Linked DNA regions of Homo sapiens: all the other regions are linked to region 1. Evidence: promoter capture Hi-C in 16 types of primary human blood cells and fetal thymus (Javierre and others, 2016). All regions are on one chromosome and are shown on one strand. Each heading gives the region's core, a stretch centred on a gene start or on the middle of the fragment in contact. The rest is flanking DNA. Distances are from core to core; before and after follow the strand shown. Region 1 holds the start of GRM5-AS1 (GRM5 antisense RNA 1). Region 2 has its middle 160 kb from the start of RAB38. Region 3 has its middle 140 kb from the start of RAB38. Region 4 has its middle 120 kb from the start of RAB38. Region 5 has its middle 94 kb from the start of RAB38. Region 6 overlaps RAB38 (RAB38, member RAS oncogene family). Region 7 overlaps RAB38 (RAB38, member RAS oncogene family).

What was found. The method cuts DNA at HindIII sites, captures the fragments that hold promoters and counts their contacts. A CHiCAGO score of 5 or more calls a contact.
Region 2: a contact is called between a fragment that was not itself captured here and the fragment with the promoter of GRM5-AS1 in region 1, in 8 of 17 cell types (monocytes, non-activated CD4 T cells, M2 macrophages and 5 more). The highest score is 8.5, in monocytes.
Region 3: a contact is called between a fragment that was not itself captured here and the fragment with the promoter of GRM5-AS1 in region 1, in 11 of 17 cell types (naive CD8 T cells, non-activated CD4 T cells, activated CD4 T cells and 8 more). The highest score is 8.5, in naive CD8 T cells.
Region 4: a contact is called between a fragment that was not itself captured here and the fragment with the promoter of GRM5-AS1 in region 1, in 4 of 17 cell types (erythroblasts, monocytes, neutrophils and 1 more). The highest score is 6.6, in erythroblasts.
Region 5: a fragment that was not itself captured here is called in contact with the fragment with the promoter of GRM5-AS1 in region 1 in 4 of 17 cell types (total B cells, activated CD4 T cells, total CD4 T cells and 1 more); the score reaches 8.1 in total B cells.
Region 6: a fragment that was not itself captured here is called in contact with the fragment with the promoter of GRM5-AS1 in region 1 in 11 of 17 cell types (naive CD8 T cells, activated CD4 T cells, neutrophils and 8 more); the score reaches 9.5 in naive CD8 T cells.
Region 7: a fragment that was not itself captured here is called in contact with the fragment with the promoter of GRM5-AS1 in region 1 in 5 of 17 cell types (neutrophils, total CD4 T cells, total B cells and 2 more); the score reaches 8.6 in neutrophils.

What each region holds. Positions count from the first base shown.
Region 1 is chr11:88,502,924-88,506,454 of GRCh38, reverse strand. GRM5-AS1 (GRM5 antisense RNA 1) reads right to left here and starts at 1,879. Exons shown (of 6, transcript NR_049724.1): 1 at 1-1,879. It overlaps GRM5 (glutamate metabotropic receptor 5), which reads left to right. Exons shown (of 10, transcript NM_001143831.3): 10 at 1-1,813. The HindIII fragment of the contact is 8,959 bases long and covers 1-3,032 here.
Region 2 is chr11:88,008,976-88,012,506 of GRCh38, reverse strand. It overlaps a transcript of RAB38 not described here. Among named protein-coding and RNA genes, the nearest start is that of RAB38, 160 kb to the left of the region's middle. The HindIII fragment of the contact is 3,053 bases long and covers 278-3,330 here.
Region 3 is chr11:88,033,650-88,037,180 of GRCh38, reverse strand. It overlaps a transcript of RAB38 not described here. Among named protein-coding and RNA genes, the nearest start is that of RAB38, 140 kb to the left of the region's middle. The HindIII fragment of the contact is 2,631 bases long and covers 208-2,838 here.
Region 4 is chr11:88,051,349-88,054,879 of GRCh38, reverse strand. It overlaps a transcript of RAB38 not described here. Among named protein-coding and RNA genes, the nearest start is that of RAB38, 120 kb to the left of the region's middle. The HindIII fragment of the contact is 1,266 bases long and covers 1,092-2,357 here.
Region 5 is chr11:88,079,632-88,083,162 of GRCh38, reverse strand. It overlaps a transcript of RAB38 not described here. Among named protein-coding and RNA genes, the nearest start is that of RAB38, 94 kb to the left of the region's middle. The HindIII fragment of the contact is 1,969 bases long and covers 1,034-3,002 here.
Region 6 is chr11:88,111,819-88,115,349 of GRCh38, reverse strand. RAB38 (RAB38, member RAS oncogene family) reads left to right here. Exons shown (of 3, transcript NM_022337.3): 3 at 1,210-2,099. The coding sequence ends at 1,362. Among named protein-coding and RNA genes, the nearest start is that of RAB38, 62 kb to the left of the region's middle. The HindIII fragment of the contact is 3,533 bases long and covers 1-3,363 here.
Region 7 is chr11:88,132,882-88,136,412 of GRCh38, reverse strand. All of the region lies in intron 2 of RAB38 (RAB38, member RAS oncogene family), which reads left to right. Among named protein-coding and RNA genes, the nearest start is that of RAB38, 41 kb to the left of the region's middle. The HindIII fragment of the contact is 2,472 bases long and covers 423-2,894 here.

The DNA of each region.
Region 1 (3,531 bases), core at 630-3,129:
TTTGGATCCTCATCAAAAGGATGGCATTCACCTGAGGATTCCTATCTTGACTTCTTAGGTATTAAAAACCTTTCTTGATATGCTCTACATTTTAAAATTTGTTTTATAAAATCCTTATGTTGATTTTCATTTTATTCTCAAGTACAATACGTTTCACTCTAGACCAGTTGAAGAACATGTTTAAACTTTGTTCATGGTCAAATTCATTTTCTATTTTTTTAGTAACATATCTCTTAAAAAGCACACTACCTTATAAAAAACTTCATCAGAAATTAAATTTAATGCAAGTAAATTGCCATCTGATACTTCCACATGCTATCATAATCAACTGTAATAATAAAAATGATTTATCCAATTAGAAAAGGACAAGATATATTTTTCTCTGTATTTCTATAACTTTTGCCACTCCATTGAATACATTGTATGTTGGACATAAGATTATTAGTAATGCATTCTTGAGATCTTTTATTTTGGAATGATGCTAACTCTGTCTCTTTGCCAATTCTAATACCAGGTTCCAAGTAATAACTCTACAGTACAAAGAGAACTGAATATTCATTCTAGGGCTATAGGATATGAACTTCACAATTCATTTGGGTACATTCTCATTGAATTTCCTTCAAAACAATCTGTTCCTGGTGCCCAGTGATAATTCAGTCGGGACCAGCATGACTAAAAGGAAGGGGATATGCTAAGGCTCAGCAAAGTGACCCTAAATGAGAGATATGTCCCAGGATGGAAAGAAGAAGACGTGGTTTAACCAAGTTATACTGACTAATCTAAGCAGTCCACTCATCCTTCCATTTTGGGAAAGGAGTGGGGGCAGCCTAAGAAGAACATATCTGGATTGGGAAGAACCGTCTTTCTGGGCTAGGGATGGGGAACAGAAAGGGAGTATGGAAAGAAAAATTATAAGAGATTTGACTGAAGCAAGGAAAAAAAGCAAATCCCCAAACGTGCTAATCCTTGAAAGTAACTATCTTTCCCAAACTACTGCTGTTACCAGCAAGTGATCAGGAAGACTAGGAGCTATTTCTGACTGTAAATGAATTGTATAATAGCTCTGCTGCAGTTCTGTGACTTCCAAGCCAGGAATTAAATGCTCTTTTTAAGAATAACAAAAAACAAAAGCATTTCCTATGCTAGTCTCCCAGTAAAATGTACATGTTTTGGAGACTTCAAAGGTATTATGTGAGTTCACATTTAGCAACAGCTTATTAATAACCCTCAAGCTGTCAGAATCTCTATAGTTACCATTTACAATTTTATACTGTGAAAAAATACAGATCAGTGAAAGCATAAAGACAAGTCAGAATTCACTTTGAAGAGGGTCTGAGGCCTGGGAGAGTCTCTACTGTCTATTGAAGAATGAGGCATGTATAAAATAGTTGGTTGAATTTCACTGATCTTCCCAATGTGAACAAATATACTATGTATATTGTGTGTATTTCTAGAAATCAATGGCAGCTGCTGATGGTGTTGTAATTAGAAATCTATATAGATTATAGATGTTTTAGAAAGATGGTGCCAATCCTAAAAGATTTGTGTGGGCTAAAAGTGCTTGTACTTACTTTTTTCTGCACTTATAACTGATTTGGTTTTAAAATTGTGTGCGTGTATCTGTTCTTTCTCTGTTGTGGCAGCTTGTACTATTAAAATAATAGAGAATGTTAAATTATTTTGATGTGAACTGCAAATGATTTTTTTTCATAAAGTTTAACATTTTTATCAGCATTGTTTTGCTTTGTACTTGTATAAATATGTTTTATTTTAGCACTTCAAAATATACTTGCCTGTTTCTCAGTTGTCTAAATCATGTTGTACTTGGTGTTTGTGAAGCCAGTTACTTTTCAAAAAAATTAAAAAACCTATAATATGATTTTAAGATTATTCCCCTCAAATGTTTAGAATGTTGTCTTAATAGTGTTTTCTGAGATGAAAAGAGCCATGATACTAATTAATCTTGAATACTGGATGATCTATACATTTGAATTATGGGGTTTACAAAGTAAGCAGTGGACTGTATAGATTTAAATGAAAATATAAACCAACCACAAACCAACCAGAGATGTTGTCCCCAAACACATCTACAAACAACTGTTACATAAAGAAGTACTTAAAAAAATATATAGGAAATATGCATTGTTTATGCATCTAGACATACAAATTATAGAAATAGTTTCATAATTATATGTGTTGATAGAGGTAACATCACACAGATAAAATAGATTATTTGTGTGTGTATAGATGTGTGTTTACAAACATACATATTTATATAGACATTTGACTTTTGAGTCCATCTGCATGTGTCTCTGTGTATATGTGTGTTTGTGTGTAGATGTATGTGCATATTACATAATTTTTCCAGAAAAAAAAAAAGTTTTACTTTGACTGATTCTTGAGCAAATATACATTCCCTGGACACAAATTAGTGAAAAACTAACAGCAGAATATAAGGTAGATGCTTGATGTATGGAAGAGAAAAACAAGGTATATTTAAAAATATATTTGATTTATGCTTCTGACATTGTATTAAATGCATAATGATATATATACATATGTAGATACATATATTATACAGAATGTGTTTGATCTTAACAAAGAAAGCCATTTTATCTGTTTTGTCAGACTCTTCCCTTCAGTATCTTTTATTCTAACGTGATATGAATGGTAATATGTTCACATAAAATTGAGGATGAAGTGACATATACAAACCAGGTACAGGAAATTACCTTCTAAAAATCCAAAGAGCCTTATCAGACTCCATCAAATTATGGAAGGCCATTTAAAACCAGCGGATGCAATAGAAATAGCATTGAATTAAAAGCCAGGATCTCTTACCTGTCACCAACTGACTTTGGATAAATCACTCTGATTTCTCTACAACTTGTTCCTCTTGCTTTAAATGCAGAAGTGAGTTACAATAATCTGTGAAGTTTCTATCATTTCAACATTCCTGATAAATGCTCAATAGTAGCTATTATTAGTGTCAATGTAGTATTTAGTATACAGTTAATATTCAGCAGGAAGCTTAAATTTGTTATATCAATGTTATTTGTGGAGCTTAACAAGTTCCTGTCCAACTTAAAGCATATATCCTGGAGGAAACCTATTGAGGTTTGAACTCATATGCAACCTTGGAACTGTCTATCAAGGACAACTTAGTAAATTGATATTGAACACCACAGAGAGAATGCTTTTCCTCTGTTATAATTGCTGCTGAATGCTGGCCAAGTTTTTGGTTATGCTGTACATGAATGATCAGTTTTAGAACATAAACAATTTGCAAATATTTACTTTGTATGATAGCTAGGCAGAAAGGTAGGTAAGCACATAGATAGGCAGAATTATATTAATGAAGTTATCTCCTTAAGCAAAAGCTTGGTATTTACATTTTCTCTCACAGTATTTTAAAACTCAGAATCAGTTATTACATCTCACTCTGTTTATTACTTTTAGGTTATTATGTTAGTAAATAAGTTCTATGAAGAGAATGTTTAAACTCATCTTCTCCAGCCACTCTTAGAATCC
Region 2 (3,531 bases), core at 555-3,054, 490 kb after region 1:
TCAAGCTTAAAACTATTTTTTAATAGAAACTTTATTAGGAAAAATAATCCAGTAAGTTCCATATACTCCTTCCGTGCTTGGTTCCCACCGTCTTCCTCCCCGTTACTTACCAACAATCCTGGTCCCAGTGTCTTCCCTTCCAGTGTGGTGTCTTTTCCTGCTGCTGGCCTTATGTCCTGACACAAATGCTGAAAGTTACTTCCTCCAGTGTCCTTCCAAGTATCTGAACAGTACAGTGACTCTGTCTTTACCTGCTTCAATTGAAGAGTGAGAAGCTTCTGGTGGCTGTGTGATCGTCAGCTTCATTAATCAGTAGGTCACAGTCTAAACATTTCTCCTCACCGGTGCCATGACTCTTGGTGACCAGATTGAAAATCTGATGAGGCCCAGAGAGCAAAAGTGACTCTACCAGTGACTGGACCCCACTCATGGCAGGCCAGGATTAAGGTGGGAATCTCCTGTCCCATCTCTCAGGTGAATGTCACACTGTTTGAGACAACTTAAGGAAGGGATATAGAGAGAGTGAGTGTGCCCCATGGTAGCTTTAATCTGGCAAAGCAGAACAACACGAATGGAGCAAAAGTCTCAAAGCAAAATCTCTCACTCAAAAGACAGTGTGCCTTACTAATTAAGAACAAAGGATTTGGAGTTATGGAGGCCTATACCTGAGTCCCAGATGTGCTGCTTACCTACTGTCTGACTTGGAAACATTGTTTAACCCCACTGAACCTTAATTTTCTACCCTGTGGATGAAATCTATGATACCTACACCATGAGGTTGTCTTGAAGAACTAGAGGACATAATTTATAAAAAAGACTTAGATGAATATCTAATATGTGCAGGCCAAGATGGTAACTATTACTATCAAGATGAGCCCTGCTGCATTCTCACCCTTATTTACTCTTTTTAATTTTCTGGAAATCTTGCTATTTCAGTCATCTTTCTGAGATGCTTATCAAGGATTGGCTCTTAAGAGCACATGGCTTTGTATCAGATACAGCTATGTTTGAGTTTGGACTACAACATTTATTTACTATTTATGTTACTCTATGCAGGTCAGTCTACCTTTACAAAGCTCAGTTTTTGGACTTGTAAAATAGGAATAATACGCATACATCTTGATAGAGATGGGCCTAGTTAAAAGATTAAGTTAGATTAAATGAGACTATAAATTTTAATAAAAACAAGAACCCTATCTTATACAACGTGGTGTTCCTTGCATCTGGCAATGTGCCTTGCATATAATTAGTGCTCAATAAATAGTTGTTAAAGGAAACAATTAATAATGCATGAATACAGCTTTTAATACAGTGTCTTACACATATTAAGTGGGAACTATATCTGTCATACACCAGTTAAAATATATGCGGAGAAACAGAATTGCAGGGCCATTTAATATTTCTCTCAGTAGATACCCATCTGGAATAGCCTCTCAGACTACCAAGATGTCTCTGTAAATGACTCTGACTACTTTTTTCTTAATAAATAAATGCCAGGGAGACAAATTTCAGAGAAGGTGGAGGCAGAAGGGGTTAACAGCTGATTCTGGGCTCTCTTGTAGAGACCTCCAGACTGGCAGAATAAGTTCTGACATTTGGGAATGCTAGGTGGGTAGGTGGGAAGGGATGATACTGAAGGTTGGGAGCTTGCATGAAACAGGTGACTACGAGGAAGGTAAAAGGGTTGAGATTATGAATACCTGGCCTTAAATCCTGCCTTGAAACCTGGAAAAATCACATAGTTTTGCTCTCAACTGCCCCATTTATAAAACAGGAATAACAGTATTTGCAGGATTATCGTGAGAATTAAATGAGAGAGTGGATATAAAAGTGATTTGTAAAATACTGAACCAAAATAAGGAGTCATCCCTCCAGGATGGAACTTTGCTTACTCCATGATTCTATTCAACTCGAAATCCTGACTGAGTCCAAGTTGACCAAACCTAATTAGGTTTCCATCTTATATCATGAATGTTCTCTGGATTTTATGGGAAAAAATAGAATTCATATCAATACAGTAAATATTGATTTTATATGTTTTGAACAAAGTACTTTTTAAATTATCTGAAACCCTCCCTGACCACCCTGGCAGTCAGTTATTCATACATCTGGCAACCACATCACCTTGAACTTCTCTTTCCTCTTGATTACATTTGTTATTTGTCCTCTCTTATAGAACTTGAGCTGGAATTCTAGTGCTTTAAGAAACTCATTAAATGACTGTTGAAAGAACAAATAAATATTTTGAACTGAGAATGAAATATGTTGCCAATTATTTGGTAGACAACATACAGCATAAGTCAAGTGTGTATTACATATAAAGCATCCCTAGTCTAAAAATTTGAAATCCATACTGCACCAAAATTCAAAACTCTTTGATGGCAACATGATGTCACAAGTGGATAATTTCACACCTAACCTTATGTGATGAGTTACAGTCAAAACACAGTCAGAACCTTGTTTCATACACAAAATTATTAAAAATATTATATAAAATTACCTTCAGGCTGTCTGTATAAGGTGTATTTGAAACATTAATGAATCCTATGTTTAGATTTGGGTCTCATTTCAAAGATATCTCACTTATGTATAGGTAAATATTTCAAAGTCCAAAAAGATCTGAAATCCAAGATACTTATGGTTCTATGCATTTCTAATAAGGGATACTCAACCTGAATATATATAAAGAGCACAGACAAAATGCTCTATTATAGTCCAAAATGTGTCAGCCACAATGAAACCCCAAAGAGCTAATCTCACTGGCACTGTGGCACCCACAAAGCTATAAATTTTGATTATTTTCCTAGAGTTGACAATTGCCTAATTGTTTTACTCCTTTGGTATTTTGATCTCCTTTATTAATTTTTCCCAAGCACTTCAACAGAATCATCGAAATCTCTCAGTACTATTTATCATATTGGTAAACTCACCGCATAACTCCTTCTGGAATCCTCTATCATCATGTTACAATCTTAAGTGGTTTCTGTCTATGCCTTTCACACAGCTTCTATGCAGGATAAGTGGAAGATTTACCCTGAAACTTCTCCCCAGAATCCTCCTGAGGATTATCTGTCCCTTTCTTTTTATATCTCTTGTTTATAGATGGGATATTTTCCTTTGTGCCAGCTTATGTTTTCCTTCATGAGAAGCATATCTTCTAATAACATATTGAGAAAGAGAGATGAAGGAATGACACTTCTGAGACTGCTTGAATAGCAGTGCCTCTATTATATGCTTATGCTTGATTTTTTAGGAGGTGAGGTATAGAACCATAGATAAGAAATTATTTTCCCTTAGAATCTTATAGTATTGTTCCATTTCTGTCAAGCTTTGGCATTAATATTGAGCATTTAAAATTACCTAATTTCAGTTTCAGTGCTGATTTTTCTCTCTGGAAGGTTGTACATATTTCCTTAATATTTGATGTTCAAAATTTTCATGATGATATGTCTTGGCCTGGGTTTTTGTTTTTGTATTTTTATTGTTTTGCATTTTTGTTAGAGACCACGTTTGTTTACTCAGCAACTGTTA
Region 3 (3,531 bases), core at 274-2,773, 470 kb after region 1:
TGGTTGTAATAGAATGTTTCAACAAACTGATTGACGTATAAAATGATAAAGAATTCAAACAACTACCTGCTCAAAAATCACTCAAACTAGATGATTATGTAGGAAATTTGACCAATTCTTCAAAGACCATTCTTTTTTAAATTGTTCCAAAGCATAGAAATAAAATAAGAAAAAGTTTGAAATAAATGTAATATTGATAACTAAGCTTGACAAAGACACACACACAAAACTAGGAAATCATGTTTCCTTATGAATATTGATTCAAGAATCCTAAGTATTTGCAAATGAAACCTGCCAACAAGGTGTCAAGGAAATAATACATCATCACCAAACCATATTTGCTCTGGAGATTAAAGACTCATATTAAGAAATCTATTAATGTAAATCCTTATATTAGTATTAGGAAATATATTAATATAAATCCTTATATTAATAGTTCTCAAGTAAATAATCATTTGATTCCATTGATATGTTCCACAAAGTTCAACACAAAAGAGAAACAAGTGACCCTACCTCTATGTTGATTGATAACATATTTATATAGAAAAACTTAATCTGAGAAAATAATATTTTGAAGGTACACTCAATAAAATGTTCTAAGAAAAAAGGAAATGCACAGAAATTGTGAGCTTTATTAAGTTTTATTGGTGATGGCATTGGTATAGACATTTTAACACTGGTTTTTGTACTGTAGGATGAAAGAAAGGGTAAATATGGAATAGGAAAAGGCAAGGACAAATGCTATGGTATTGTATTTGAATTTTTGTTAGCATTAATGATTAAATACATGCAATTAAGCCATGGAAAGATTCAGAAGCAATGTTACTCTGGTAGCGATAAGTATACTTTTTCCCCAGATCTTGGCTTCTAAACATCATTTTTCACTACAAATAACTGGAATCCTTAGAGATATAACTGAATCTATGTCTTTGGCAGAGTAAGTACAAAGTGACCTTGAAACATTTTGTTGTGGCAGAGAGTAAAGGAGTATCATGAATTGAGGGTACATATCAAAATGATCCAGAATCCAGCTTAACTGGACTCCCATTATCAAAATTTGAGATGATTTGATTATTAACAATAATCATAATCTTGCTTCTAGCTATGAAGGAGTAGTTTGCATCTGACTAGTATTACAACTAAGAACAACTATAAAACCTGGATTTTAATTTTAATTTAATTTAATTTTATTATTTTTTGCTCATATGGGGACTGACAACTATAAAACCTGGATTTTTAAAAGCAGTGGTTTGAAATCATTAGAGAGAAATCAAGGCAAACAGGATTTAAGGAGCCATGATCCCAAAAGAAAAAAAAAAGGGCATTGAGGTTAGTTGTAGATCAGCACCACTATTTTTCCTCCTGAAATTTGTCAATTTGCTTCAGTGCATAAAGCAGGAGGAGAAATTTAAGTAGTCTTGCTAGAATGGGATGTCCCCAAAAATTGGAGTTCAAGACGCTTAGTCAACCAAATTTGAGGTATTCAGATCCTTACGTAAAGAAAATTGCAGAAAGAAAACTCAAGAAAATGTCTAATGTCACTTAGACTGGTTTAGATTTCTGGTCTATGTCTTTCTCCCATGCTGGACTCTTCTTGCCCTTGAATATTGGACTCCAAGTTTGTCAGCCTTGAGACTCGGACTGGCTTCCTTGCTCTTCAGCTGGCAGATGGCCTATTGTGGGACCTCGCCTTGTGATTGTGTGAGTCAGTACTCCTTAATAAACTCCCCTTTATGTATACATCTATCCTATTAGTTATGTCCCTCTAGAGAACTCTGACTAATACAGATTTTGGTATTAGTCAATGTTTCTGAGAAAAAAAATCTTAAAAGTTGTTAGAGAATAAAAACACATTACTTTCAAAGAAGCAGGTACAAGACTGGCTGTGAAGAAAAAGCATTAACTATATAAAAAGATTAATAAAATTTACTTCATTAAAATTTAAAAACTTTATTCATCAAAAGACATCATTAAAAGGATGAAGAAATTACTCATACAGTAGAGAAGATACCACTTTTTTAAAAATAAATAAGCAAAAGTCTTTGAGAGAGTTTACAAGATGACGATCCATCTGATCAAAAAAAGAGAAATGTCCTCAACATTGTTAATCAGCAGAGAAGTAAAAATTAAAACCTAGTGAGGTCCACTACACATCCAGAGAAAGTGTTATACTTAAAAAACGACATTAACAAATGTTGTCAAGGAGCTCTCATATGCAGCTGATGAAAGTATAAAGTTGGTGCAACCACTTTGAAACTATTTGTCAATATTTACCAATAATAAACACATGCAGATCTATGACTCACAATTCTACTCTCATGTGTATACTAACATAAATGTAAATTTAAACTCAACAAAGACATGAATAAGAATGTTCATAGAAGAATAAGGCAATATTGCCTCACACCAGAAATATCGTAGGTATCCAATCACAGTAAAGGTGTAAGGTCAAAGAACTCTTGAAACTCAACAGTAAAAGAAAAAAATCCAATTAGGAAACGAACAGAAGGCATGAATAGAGACATTCCACCAAAGAGGATATACAGATGGCAAATAAGCACATGATAATATGTTCAACATCAGTAGCCACTAGTGACATGCAAATTTAAACTACAATAAGATGTCATAACATATCTGTCATAATGGATAAAATTTGTTTATGATATCATCAAATACTGACAAGAATTCAGAAAAACTGGAATCAAACATTGCTGTTGGGAATGTAAACTGTTACAGCCACTCTTGAAAATAGTAGGCAATTTCTTATAAAATAAAACATACAACCACTGTAAACCCAGCATTTGTGTTCTTGGGCATTTATGCCATAGAATAAAAGCTTATGCTCACACAAAAACCAATACATAAATATTCATAACACTTACGTGTAATAACCCAAAACTGTAAACAAACTGCAAATTGTCAATGGGCAAATGGCTAACAGACAGTGATACATTCTTACCATGGAATATTACTCAGCAATTAAAAGGGAAATATACTGAGTGAAAAAAAGCGAATCCCAAATGGTTACATACAGTATAACTCCATTTATGTAACATTATTGAATTGACAAAATTAAAGATAAGGAAAACAGATTAGTGGTTGCCAGGTGTTGCGGATGTGGAAGGTAGATGTGGTTATAAAAGTGCAACACAACTGCAGGGCGCGGTGGCTCATGCTAGTAATCCCAGCACTTTGGGAGGCCGAGGTGGGCAGATCACGAGGTCAGGAGATCGAGACCATCCTGGCTAACACGTTGAAACTCTGTCTCTACTAAAAATACAAAAAATTAACCGGGCATAGTGGCGGCTGCCTGTAGTCCCAGCTACTTGGGAGGCTGAGGCAAGAGAATGGCATGAACCCGGGAGGCGGAGCTTGCAGTCAGCTGAGATTGCGCCACTGTACTCCAGCCTGGGCGACAGAGCGAGACTCCATCTCAAAAAAAAAAAAAAAAAAAAGGCAACACAACAGATCCTTGAGGTGAGAGAAATGTTCTTTACTATAATGATGGATACACAAACTTAACATAATAAA
Region 4 (3,531 bases), core at 475-2,974, 450 kb after region 1:
GGCTTTGTCTTAGGACCATGGTAGACTTAAGGAGATCTCCTGATAACGCTGTGCAATTACTGGGTTCTGTATCTTTGTGCAAGCTGTCCTTTCTTGGGAAACCTGTTCCCACCTCAAATGTGAAAACCGTATATATCTTTGTGCTCAGATGTTACTTTCCCTGTGAAGCACATCTATCACCCTGAACAAAGTTAGTGGCCTCCTTAATGTCCCTTGTATATCTTTCCATTACTGGATTTATCACACTGGAATATCTAGTGAGATTTCTGACTCCTTGGATTTGGTTTAGGCAGTTGGAAGACAGAGATTATGTCACATCCAGTAGAAGCTTACTAAATCCCAGATGAGCTGAATCAGCTATACAGTTCTCAGCATTAAAACCATGTTGGGCGCATTCCCAGGTTAATATTTGCTTCCCTTTGGGTTTTTTGCTAAAATTCAAACTAATACTCCAAGTTACTTAATTGCTTCACTGAGGTGTGTCAAAGTTAATTGAAGTATTACATGTTTTATTTTTCCATCTTATACATAAAACTTGAGGCTGTTAGAATGCAGAAAACTACCCAGAAATGTTGTCAAGTCAAGGAGACCTGGTTCATCCTAGCCTGGTTCTTCAAGCCTCAAAAAAACAAGATGAAGATGGAAGGCCAGTTAGAGGGACTGTTACTCTACATGCAAGAAAAATGTTATCTGTCATTCAGACTTGAGTTTCTATCTCTTATTCTTCATAATAGCTAAGTTCTTAGAGATGTGGCTGGGTGTGTGCTTTATATGCATTAATCCTTACAACAGTCAGGTGATGCGGGCATAACATCTTCATTCTTCGCAGTTCGTGAACATGAGATCAAGGCAGGTTTAATGACTTGGCAAGTTCACATACAAGTTAAAAGGAAAATGTGAGATGTGCAAAAAATTCTATCTGGTTTCAAAATTTGTACTCTTTACACTACATGCTGCATGATCTTTTCTTGCTGTATGAGCAGCAATGACATAAGTAAGAATGCCTTTCTCATCTTATTCATTCAAACATTTTCTTTTCCACCTGGCCAGTGACTTTGCTATGAGGAAAAAATAAAAAAAAAAAAAAAGCTTAAGTCCTTTCTCCTAACAGTGCACCTGGTTAAGAACTAAAGTAGCTATTTGTCCTTGGCAAGTCACTGCGTATCAAGGCTTTTGATAAAATTCATTTAAATTTTCTGCTTTTTGTCTCATGGCCCCAACCTCCTGATTTTATTTGGTTTTAACTTTTATTTCCCATTATGAGAGAAGCTCCTATTGGTTTTTATAAATGCATCTTTCTCACTGGACGCACAGCTGTCTGATGACTTTCATGTTCATCTGATAATTTTCCAGGACATGAACAGAAGGCATGGAATATATATATATATTCCATATATATGTGTGTATATATATATATTCCATATATATGTGTGTATATATATATATTCCATATATATGTGTGTGTATATATATATATTCCATATATATGTGTGTGTATATATATATATTCCATATATATGTGTGTGTATATATATATTCCATATATATGTGTGTGTATATATATATTCCATATATATGTGTGTATATATATATTCCATATATATGTGTGTGTATATATATATTCCATATATATGTGTGTATATATATATTCCATATATATGTGTGTATATATATATTCCATATATATGTGTGTATATATATATTCCATATATATGTGTGTATATATATATTCCATATATATTGTATATATAATATATATATTCCATATATATGTGTATATATATAATATATATTCCATATATATGTGTATATATATAATATATATATTCCATATATGTATATATTATATATATTCCATATATATGTGTATATATATTATATATACACACACAACATATATATAACATATATATCATATATATCATATATATAATTTATATATATATATATATATATATATATATATATATATATATATGAAATTTTTTCCTTCTGCCCTGGGAGGCAGTAATGAGAGGTATAAAAATTTGTATTAACCTCCACCCCACTTTTTATTTTTGGTCAGCCAAATGCCCAGCAAGTAAAGAGACTCCACAAACTGAAAGATTCCTTGCTGTCAAAGGTGGCCTCAATTTCTTCTAGGTCACTGAAGATTTTCATCTATTAGAAAACAGCTTTGAGGGAAACTGCCAGGAGCATAGTCATTAATGTAGCATTGATAGTTCAATGTCAGGAACTTTTGAGAATGGAGGAAATTATGAGATACTTTTTTCTTCACATTTTAAAAAAGAGAGTATCTATTTGATAAAATTCAAATACAGACCTAAGGAAGCATATGAACAAGACCTAAGTAAGCTTTTGAGTGAAAAAGACCTAGGGTTGAAATCCAGTTCTATTGTTACCTTTTTGTAGTGGTTTTTATATGATTCAATGCATACATTAAATTTCATAGGGCCGTATACCAAAATATTTGGAAGGTTTTCAGGCATTATTAATTCAACTATATTTTCAGCACCAAACTCTTCCTCTTCACTTTTTGGGACGGACAGCATAAATATTAGACATCTTGCTTTTGACCTATAGATCTCTGAGACTGTTACATATTTTAATCTCTTTTTTTTCTGTTATTCAGGCTGGAGAAGTTCTACTGATCTATCTAAAAGTTTTCTGACTCTTTCTTCTATTCTCTATTCATCTCTATTTCACTGTCAACCCCAACAGGTGAGTTGTTTATTCTTTTATTATTTATTTATTTTGAGGCGGAGTTTCGCTCTTGCTGCCCAGGCTGGGGTGCAATGGTGCAATCTTAGCTCACTGCAACCTCCACCTCCCTGGTTCAAGCAATTCTCCTGCTTTAGCCTCCCAAGTAGCTGGGATTACAGGCATGAGTCACCATGCCCAGCTAATTTTTTGTATTTAGTAGAGAAGGTGTTTCGCCATGTGGGTCAGGCTGGTCTCAAACTCCTGACCTCAGGTGATCTACCAGCCTCGGCCTCCGAAAGTGCTAGGATTACAGGCATGAGCCACTGCGCCCAGCCCTTTATTTAGTTATTATATTTTTTAGCTCTAAACTGTCATTTAGTTATTCCTATGGTTCTAATACTTTGCTGAAACTTTCTATTTTTTGTTTCAAAAGGTTTCAAAATTCCATATTGGGACAATTTTATAATGCCTGCTTTATAGACTTTGTCAGATAATTTCAACATCTGTGCTATCTCAGTCTTGGCATCTGTTGATTGCTTTTTCCCATGTAAGTTGAGATTCTCCTTGTTTTTCACATGATGACTAATTTTTGACTGTATCCTGTTTAAACAGCATACAAAATGTTGACTTTTTTTTTTTTGTTAGGTTCCGGCTGCAAGTTCAGTTTCACCTTCTGTGGGGGTTGTCTATTGTTCCAATGTCAGTTGAGTTTTCAAAGCCTTTGCTTCTATCCGTCCTGCTTGTGCTCCACCTAGTATGGTGGACCTAGGTGGTGATGTATGTCACCACTCAGTTGTCAAGGATTTGGAGGTGCTGATTAGAATCAGA
Region 5 (3,531 bases), core at 769-3,268, 420 kb after region 1:
ATAATATTTTAATAAACACTGAAGGAAGTGAGGGAGCGAGCCTTGCATCTATCTAGAAGAATAGCTAGACCAACCCAGAGAATAGTAATTACAAAAGCTTTGAAGTAGGAGCGTATCTATTCGTGCTTAAGGAACAGTGAAGTGACCAATATTACTAAAGGAGATTAAACTAGAGGAAGAGTAGAAAGAGATGTCAGGAGAACTAGAAGACCAAATTATCTAGGGTCCTTTAGGCTATTGTAGGACCCTAGATTTTATGAGAAAGAAAGCCATTGGAGGCTTTTGCACAGAAAAGTTAAATAATCTGATTTATGTCTTAAAAGGATGACTGTGTTTATAAATGGAGGGAAAACTGGAGAGGATAAGGAAAGAAGCAGAAGATCAGTTAGAGAGCAATTGCAAAAATTAGGAGAGTGATGCTGGAATCTTAGATCTGGATGCCTTCAATGAAGTTATTGAGAAGTGAGACTGAATAAATGTTAAAGATGGAGCTTGCAGGATTTTCTGATGAATGGAGATGTGGGATTGAGAGATAAAGGTCAAAGATGACTCCTATGTTTTGGATCAGAGCAACTGGAATAGTCGTGTTGCTCTTTCTTGAGATGGGATAGATTGCGGGAGATGCATATTTGAGAGAGAAGATTAGGCGTTTGTTTTAGCTATGTTAAATTTGAGGTTCCTATTAGATATCTGGGTGGTTTTGTCTCCTGACAGTGTTTACTTCCCAATGCCTCTGCCACAGGAGGCATCCAGGCTGACATTTTCTGCTCAGACTCCTAAAATTGATCTCCTTCCTTTTTGGCTTTGCATGTCCTGAATCATCCTACAAATATTTTTTTTTCTTTCTAATATATTAAGATGATTAACATTTTTGCTCAAAATTTCAGTATCTTCTCATTGCTTATTTAATTTAGTAGACTCTCCTTAGCTTGAGCATTGATTGGTCTAAACTATTATGAACATTGGCAAATATATAGATATGTAACTACCAAAACAATTCTATTATTGATCATTTTCATCACCCCAGAAAGCTTGCTCTTGTGTCAATTTCCATCTCTCATCCCAATCCCTGGCAACTACCGATCTGATTTTTGTCTTAGAAATTAATTTTGAGCCTTTTTCGGATGCAACGTAAATGAAATCATAGCATATCTAGGTTTCTGTGTTTGGAATTTTTCACTTAGCATAAGGCCTTTCTGATATATCCTTTTTGTTACATGTATTAGTAGTTCATTCTGCTCTATTGCCAAGTAGTAAGGTATACTGCAACTTTTTTTATCCCTTCACCAGTTGAAGGATATTGGGCTTTTCCAGATTTTGGTTTTTATGAACAAAGCTGCTACAGAGGGTTGAATGTGGCGTTCCAAAAGGTATGTCCACCTGGAACTTCAGAATGTGACCTTAATTGGAAAAAGGGTCTTTGCAGATATAATTAAGGTAAGACTCTTGAAACAAGACCATCTTGAATTAGGGCGGGTTGTGAGTCAATGATGGATGTCCTTCTATGAAATACAGAAGGAGCAAACACACAGCGACACAGAGGGGAGAAGGCTATGTAAAGATGGATGCAGAGATTCAATAATGTGTCACAAGCCAAGGAATGCTAACTAAGGATTACCAATAGCCACCAGAAGCTAGCAGATAGGAATAGAATGGATTCTTCCTTAGAGCTTCCAGGAGGAGCCAACCCTGTCAGCACCTTAACATCCATAACTTCTGGCATCTATAACTATGAGACAAAAAATTTCTGTTGTTTTAAGTTGTCAGGTTTGGAGTATGTGTTATGTCAGCTGTAGAAAACTAACACAGCTTCTATAAACATTAATATACAGGTCTTTGTGTGGACATACATTTTTATTTCTCTTGTGTAAATACTTAGAGTGGGATTGCTGGGTAGTATAACAAAGCTATGTTTCAATTTCTAAGAAACTTCCAAACTTTTTCCATAGTGATTATACTACTTTTCATTTCAACCAACAATATATGACTGTTTCAATTGTTTTGCACATTTGTCATCATTTGATATTGTAAATTTTGTGTCTTTTATTTTGTTTTAGCCATTGTAGTTAATGTGTAGTGGTGTTATTTTCTGTTTTTCTAATGATTAATTATGAGAATCTTTAAATGAGTATTTTTTATATAGTGTCTTAAAATATTTTGTCCAACTTTTATTTGTTTGTTTGTTTCCTATTGAGTTGTAAGTATGTTGGCAGGTAGGGTTTAAGATGGCTTTGTTATCTTTCTTTCATTATTATTTTATTTTCTTCTTTCTTTTCTTTCTCTTCCTCCCTCCCTCCCTCCCTCCCTCCTTCCTTCCTTCCTTCCTTCCATGCTAAATTGCTCATCAAACCACCAAATGCTGCCTTGATGGAAAAATGATTCTCCATTAAGTTATTTTATTAATTAACCACACTTGGGTATCAGGGGCGAGGTGCTAAGTTTTTGGACTTCGTCTTGTGTTCACTTGATGTAAAAATCTATCTGTACACAAACATACTACTGTGATGTTTATTGCAACTTCAAATTGAGTCTTAAAATCAGTTTACGTGGGTTTTCCAACTTTTTTTTTAATTGTTTGGAGTATTCTGGATCCTTCTTTTTTCTATTTAAATGTTAGAATCTGTTTGTCACTTTCTCAAAGAATGTGCTACAATTTTGATTCGGCTTGCATCAGATCCATAGATCAGTTGGAGAAGAACTCATACCCTAACAATGTTGAGTAGTCCAATTAATACATACAGTATATATATCACCTTTTATTTGGATCTTTTAAACACTTTTTTCATCAATATTTTTCTTCATGTAGTAGTTTAGAGCCTTATGAATGTTGCATATTTATTATTGGATTTATCTTTACTTTTTACATCGTTGTAATATTTTAAAAGTTAAATTTCTAATTGTGTGTAGCTAGCGAATGAATAATTTTTTTGTTTTGTTTTGTTTTTATATATTGACCTTGTATCCTGAAACACTGAGAAGCTCACTCTTTACTTGTAGAAGCTTTTGATAGATTCCTTGGGATTTTTTCTATGTATGGAAATGCCATCAGCTGATACAGACAGTTTTATTTCTCCATTTCCTATCTATATATCTTTATTTTTGTTTTTTTATTTATTGAACTGTCTAGTATCTCATGTAAAATGTTAATTAGAAATAATGATAGTATATATTCCTATCTTGTTCTCAGTCTTAGGGAAAAAGTATTTGCTTTGTTTCCATTAAATATAATATTAGGTAAAGGTTTTTGTTAGATGCCTGCCATCAGATTTAGGAATAACCCATTATTCCTAGTGTATTAAGAGTTTTTATCTTAAATGAGAATTCAATTCTTTCAAATGATTTTTGTGCATCTACCGAGATTACTATATTTTTTTTCTTTTTTATGATGTTTATGTGGTGAATTACTTAGATTGATTTGCACATGTTGAACTAGCTTTGCATTCCTGGGATAAACTCCATTTGCTAATGATGTATTACATTTTTTATATTACTAGGTTTGGTTTGTACATATTTTCTTAATATTATTGCATC
Region 6 (3,531 bases), core at 348-2,847, 390 kb after region 1:
CATACATGCAAAAATCAGGGATAAGTATTTCCACTTCAGATTGGACAACAAGGTTCTGTAGTAAAACATTTTAACAACGAGAAAGCCTTGTCTCTTTAAGTATGAAGAAATACATCAAAGAAGTTCTACAAATTGTGATTAAAAACAATCAAATTTAACTTTATTGCAGATCTTTAACTACTTTTTACCTAATCAAAGATATTTATTTTAGTACACTGGTAGTATATTTTCTATATGTCTTAGGTTTCTGACCAGCAGGAACAAAAAAAGCAGTTTAACTTATACTACTGACATATTTTAGATTCAAATGTTTGCTCCATATTTTTTCCAAATTCAAGTTTATTTCATTTTTGAACCTAAACTTATATTTCCAGTTTTACTTTTTTCCTTGAGGAGTTATATCCATCTGGAATGTCTAGATAATGCCAGGGTTTATTTGGGGTAATAACCTCAAATCTCAGTGGGTTAAAATAGCAAAGATCATCATTCTCATGCACACTACATAGCATGGGCTGATTGGGATACTTGCCTCTACTTGATTCTCACTCACAGACCTTATCCAAAAGAGTTTCCATTGCTGTGCTTCCACAGGGAGAAACAGAAAAAACAGGAAACTGAGCACTGGCTCTTATTGCTCCTATATGAAAGTGACACACATTACTTCTCACATTTTGACGCCCAACAAGTCACATGTCCATGGCTAAGTTCAAAGAGGTCAGAACAGTGTACTCTTCCCCATTTCACTAGAATATAGAGACCCAGAAATATCTGTGAAACCATTAATGCATACTATAAAAGATGTCTTATCATTCTTATTTTATATCAAGGTCACAAAAATAGTATGTGGCAGAGGGCAATTATAAATCTAAGTCAGATTAAAGGTTTATGTTTCTTCTACAATATTTTTATAGTTTGAGTATGTGAAAATGTGAAAATAAGAAAATTGCCCTCTAACTGAAATTTAACCTACTAAGTACATTTACCAGACACCATTCCTCCTATATGACATAGCAAAATAAATACTTCTTTTTTGAGGAACCAAACAGTAAAGTTCTTTGAAGGAACAAATAAGAGTGAGGGAAACAGGAGGGGGATGCATATGTAGCATATAGGAAGGAATATTTAAATGAATTGTCACATATAAGTCTCTGCTCTAGCATTATTTCAGAGTATTGAATAAGAAAAGCTGTTTTATTTTTTCCCTCATAGGAAAATATAAACATTGATGAAGCCTCCAGATGCCTGGTGAAACACATACTTGCAAATGAGTGTGACCTAATGGAGTCTATTGAGCCGGACGTCGTGAAGCCCCATCTCACATCAACCAAGGTTGCCAGCTGCTCTGGCTGTGCCAAATCCTAGTAGGCACCTTTGCTGGTGTCTGGTAGGAATGACCTCATTGTTCCACAAATTGTGCCTCTATTTTTACCATTTTGGGTAAACGTCAGGATAGAGATACCACATGTGGCAAGCCAAAGATCTATGCCTCTGTTTTTTCAGTGAGAGAGAAATAGCAAATGTTCTTTCTATGCTTTCCTCACCATCATCACAGTGTTTACAAACTTTTGAAAATATTTAGTCTGTTACAAACTTCTGTCATGTAGCTGACCAAAATCCTGCAGGGCCACAGTCGGCACTGTTATTTGCTTCTTTTAATCAGCAAAGGCCTCAAGTCTTAAAATAAAAGGGGAGAAGAACAAACTAGCTGTCAAGTCAAGGACTGGCTTTCACCTTGCCCTGGTGTCTTTTTCCAGATTTCAGTATATTCTCTGATGGCCTGACAGGCCTATTAAGTAGATGTGATATTTTCTCCCAAGATGACCTCCATTCTCGGCAGACCTAAGAGTTGCCTCTGAGTTAGCTCTTTGGAATCGTGAACACAGGTGTGCTATATTGTCCTTGTCCTAACTGTCACTTGCCATGGCCTGAATGTTGGCTTAACTGAATATTGTATGAAAAGACATGCCTCCATATGTGCCTTTCTGTTAGCTTTCTCTGACTCAAGCTGTGGGGCTCCTCTATACATGCTATACATGTAATATATATTATATATATTTTTGCAAGTGAACAATAAAACATTAAAAGATGCTGTTTCCCTATTTATGAAAGTGCTTTAAGTTTCTTAGTGTTGTGAAGGGATTTTTTTTTTTTTCGGACAAAGTAAACAGGGTTCTCAAGATCCATTTCTAAAATTTTATTTCAAGGAGGAGATGAGAAATGTATGCTTAAAGAAACTGCTGGACACTATTAAAACTGGGATGAGTCTATGCCATCTGCATTTACTGTTCATATTGACATTTAGGCTACAGAGTGTACAGTGCATATACATATTTTTAGTTAATCAGAGGAATATGTCCTCATAGATTCTGATTAAGAAAGGTGCCAGATCAATCAACATAAAAAGAAACAATAAAATATGCATTGTGACACCTTGGTTTACACAGTGGTTGTGGTGCTGACACGTGCAGGTAGCTATTATTTTTTAATGTCATTATTTCATATTAATATTTGTAATACACTCACAGGAGTCGTATATACATATATATATATATATATTTTGTTGTTGTTGTTGTTGTTGAGACGGAGTCTTGCTATGTCACCAGGCTGGAGTGCAGTGGCGCGATCTCAGCTCACTGCAACTTCCACCTCCTGGGTTCAAGCGATTCTCCTGCCTCAGCCTCCTGAGTAGCTGGGACTACAGGCATGTGCCACCACGCCCAGCTAATTTTTGTATTTTTAATAGAGACGAGGTTTATCAGGATCCTGCTATTTTCCTGTAAGGGTCTTGACTTTAGTGGAGGAAACGTGGTAGCTCTGTCAGCTTGGCCTCTTACAACTCTGCAGGATCCTGAGATAGAGGATGAGATATGTGGGTACATATCCTTAAGAGTCTTGAATCCCCAAATTCTTTGGAAACTCTGACCTAGAAAAAGAGGCCTTCTACTCTTTCCAGTGGGAGAACAGTTAATTGCTACATAAAAGCCCTGCCTCAGTAGGAAGTTTTAAGGTGAGGCTTGCCCATATCAAGTTCTGCCCCCATTTCTCCTCATTGCTTCTAGACAAATAACTAGGGCCAAGTCTCAGCATGATCTGAGTGGAAAAGGATGATCTGTGTTGCAGGATGAAATGGATTATTTATCAAATGAACTACAGAATCTGGCTAGTAAATATTAGTAGTAATGTAGAGAACAATCCATGAATTGGTCTTGATATACTGAAATATTGGATCATGGCGATAAGGCCGGATAATAGATACTCTACTTATATGAGGAAATACTTTCATGAGTTAATTTTTAACATTCTGACAAGTCTACCTGGCATTGATTCTAATATGCTATTGGAATGGCTTGGCTCCTTGAAGCTTATAAATGATTCTGGCCTGAAATAAATGATGTGGACATGCCAGAACTACATTGGCAAAATACTGGAGAAGAGATCCAGGGTCTCATAGAAGTGGGAATGTTAGAGTGTACTTATTTTGAAAGGCCGGAGAATCTGCCAGCTCATTGTGTTCTCCAGGAGAGCCTAGAA
Region 7 (3,531 bases), core at 409-2,908, 370 kb after region 1:
TGTTTTGTGGTCCTTTGCCTTCTCTGATGTGTCTTGTTGGCCACATTTGAAGCGCCCTTAGATTTGTGGATGACAGTCCTACCCTCCCAAGGCCTTCTGTTTCATCTCCATCTACTTCACTGCTACCGAGGTATTGATTTCTTGAGAAAGCCTGCTGAGACTGGGGGGAAAATCAATATCCCATTAGGCAAAAGTGAGGAGCAGCAGCAGCTCCTCTGTAGCCTGTCTGTGGACCTAACATGCTACGGGAGTGCTCAAAGGCTGGGTTAGCCTGTGGTGTCCAGAGATATCCTAAAGTGATGGAATAGCCCTAGGGATAATGTAGAAAAGCCAATGACAGAATGCTCAAGATTTGTAAATCCATTTCCTTGAACTAAATGAAGTGGAGTCACTTTTTGAGAATAATTTTACTTGTCAAAGCTTGCTCCGGAGGAAAGAAGTTCTCTCTTGAGAACTTTCATAATTCCCAGTCACTTTGAATTTTCTAGTGTAAGTAAAATTGTTGGTTAGCTGTAAGACAAATTATTTAGCTTTCATTTCCCCTGGGGTTCTCAAAATGAAAGAGGAATGACAGCATTGAGATGCCAGGATACTATATGTTTCTGAAACATTATGTTGTAAATCCCATTTTTAAATACCATCGCAAAAGGCTCGTTATGGTAGCTCTTCCTGGATGAGTCTCTTTAAAAAGGAAGAGTTTCTTTGGAAGACTATTGTCACATTCTATTTCATCTGGTAATAAGTTTAGATTTTGTGTTTCAGATTTTTGTAAAGAAGGACAGTCACAAGCAGTAAATGCAAACTATCAGAGTTGAAAGAGATCTAGCATTACCACAGTAGTTGAAACCCATATTTAACCCCCAAAGTGGCATGCCATTATATATCTTCTCTACCATTTGCATGGAAACACAAGAATATTAGATGTGGCGAGCAGTTTAACTTAACCTGTGGTCTAAGTACTTTATTTTACGGTTTTATCTATTCATTTATTCTTCAAATAATCATTGAGAACCTCTATGTTACAGGTACTATTTTAGGCATTAGGGCTATACCAGTGGACAAAATAGATAAAATCCCTCTCACCTTGGAACTTGCATTAAAGTGAGTAAAGACAGGTTATAAAATGGTAAATAAACGTAATATATAGTTTGTCAGGTGGAGATAAGTGCTAAGCAGAACATGAAAGCAGGGGAGCTTGCGTGGCATATGTAACATGTGGGATATAGGGAGGAGTAAAAAGAGAAGTAAGCAGTTTTAGACAGGGTGACCGGGGAAGGTTTCATCAAGAGGGTGTTTTTGTTGTTGTTGTTGTTTTTAAGGTAAATATTTGAAAGATGAGCACTATTGAGCCATATAAAATCACGGAAAGAAAATGGTCGAGGAAGTGGGTATAGCATGAGCAGAGGCACTCTGGCAGGAATTGACAGCTGTATTTTTGGAACAGCAAGGCAGCCAGTGAAGATGGAGCAGAGTGAGCAATAGCAGAGTGATAGAGGTGAGGTCAGAGAGGTGATGTCCTGTTGAGTTTTTAGATAATTGTAAGAATTTTGGATTTTTGTGAGACAGAATTTTCTGTTCAAGAAGCCATTGGGTTTGATCAGAGATGTGATATAATTTGATCTAAAGGATCGTTGCAGTGGTTTTGTTGAACCTGAATTATAGTGAGAAAGGTTGGAAGCAGATCAGCTGGGATGCTATTGCAATATTTAAGAATGAGATTGTGAGAAGTACTCAAATTCTACCTTGTATTTATGAATGTTCTTCAGACACAGGATTTCCTAGCAATTTAAGTAAAGGTAATGACAGAAAGTGAGGATTTAAGGATGTCTCAACAGTTTTTGGCCTAAGCAACTGTAAGAATAGAATTGGCGGCCAGGTGATGTGGCTCACGCCTGTAATCCCAGCACTTTGGGAGGCCGAGGTGAGGGGAATCACTTAAGGTCAAGAGTTTGCGACCAGCCTGGCCAACATGGAGAAACCCCATTTCTACTAAAAACACAAAAAATTAACCAGGCATGGTGGCAGACACCGGTAGTCCCCGCTACTCAGGAGGCTGAGTCAGGAGAATCGCTTGAACCCAGGAGGTGGAGGTTGCAGTGAGCCTAGATTGCGCCACTGTACTTCAGCCTAGGTGACAGAGCAAGACTCCATCTCAAAAAAATAAAATAAAATAAATAGAGTTGGCAGTTTTTGAATGGGGTCCTGAGATACAGAGGGATCAATGGGTAAGAGATACAAGATTCTTTTTTTTGTATGTTAAAGTCTAAAAGGTTACTATACATCTAAGAGCAGATGTAAAGTAAGTAGTTATGTATGATTCTGCAGTTCAGGAGAAAAGTCCAGGCTGCAGATATGTTTGGTTGTTATGTATGTATAGGTAATATTTAAAGATCCCTTTGGAATGAGATTACCTTGGGAATGAGTATAGATAGAAAAGAGAAAAGGACTCAGGACTAATCTCTTGGCATTCCCACATTTAGATGAAAAAATGAGGCCCCAGAGAGGGGAAGTAGTAGAGGTAGCATAGGTGTATTTCAAAATAGCTAAGACTAGAACTCAGTGGACTCTCCTCAGTAGACAGCCCTAATAAGATTACTTTTGAGTAGCCTGACTTTTCACTCTTTTTTTTCTATGCTATTCTTCTGAGTAGTAAACTGGGAAGATTTTGGACAAGAAAAAAAGTCAGATTATACATCATTGGTTCTCTCTTTAAATAATCAAAACTTGCATTCACTTACTGTGTTTCTGCTAGTTGGTGGGTCTAAAAATTAAAGTAGGAAAATAAGGTTATTAAATAATTATCCCCCTCTATTCTGTCAACAGTGTATTTTCTTTTAAGTCACTGGGAGGTCTAGCATGGGTCAGAGGTGTCTAGGGTGTAACAGGAGTAAGCTTTGACCAGACTTTATAGTAGTTAGAGATTTTTAAATCTAACTTAAAGAGCATAGTAGCAAGCCTAAATTTCAGGTCTACAAAAGGGCCAAAATATTCAGAAACTTTGTAAATGAGTTCATCATCTAGATTGAAAGTCAGCTTTTGTTATTTGCCATGAATGTTCAAAATGTTAATATATAACATTTGTTTAAAACTTTCAAATTTTGGAAGTTTCCAACATTTATTTTCTTATTTGGCTTTCACAAATTCCCAGCACAGAATGACTTTTCACTCTTTGTAAGACTTGTTTATTAAGAACTCCTGCTGTTGTTCAAGTGAATTGGCTTTGGGAACCCTTACCATTCTGGTTGTCTTACCTGGACACTGTAATCTGTCCGTATGCCAGTTTAAATGGAGTGGCCAGATCTGTTTACAATATACTAGATGTAGACTGAACAGAGCATGGGATAATGGGACTCTAACCTATCTTTCCTAGACCACAATATTTCTATTGTATGCAGTAGTTCACTACATTAATTTATTTTCAACAGCTGTATCAAACTGTTAGAGACATGTTGTACTTACGGTCAACTAAAAATCCCTTATTTTTCTAAATAATATGCTATCAAATGAAATCTTGTGCATTTAAACTATTGA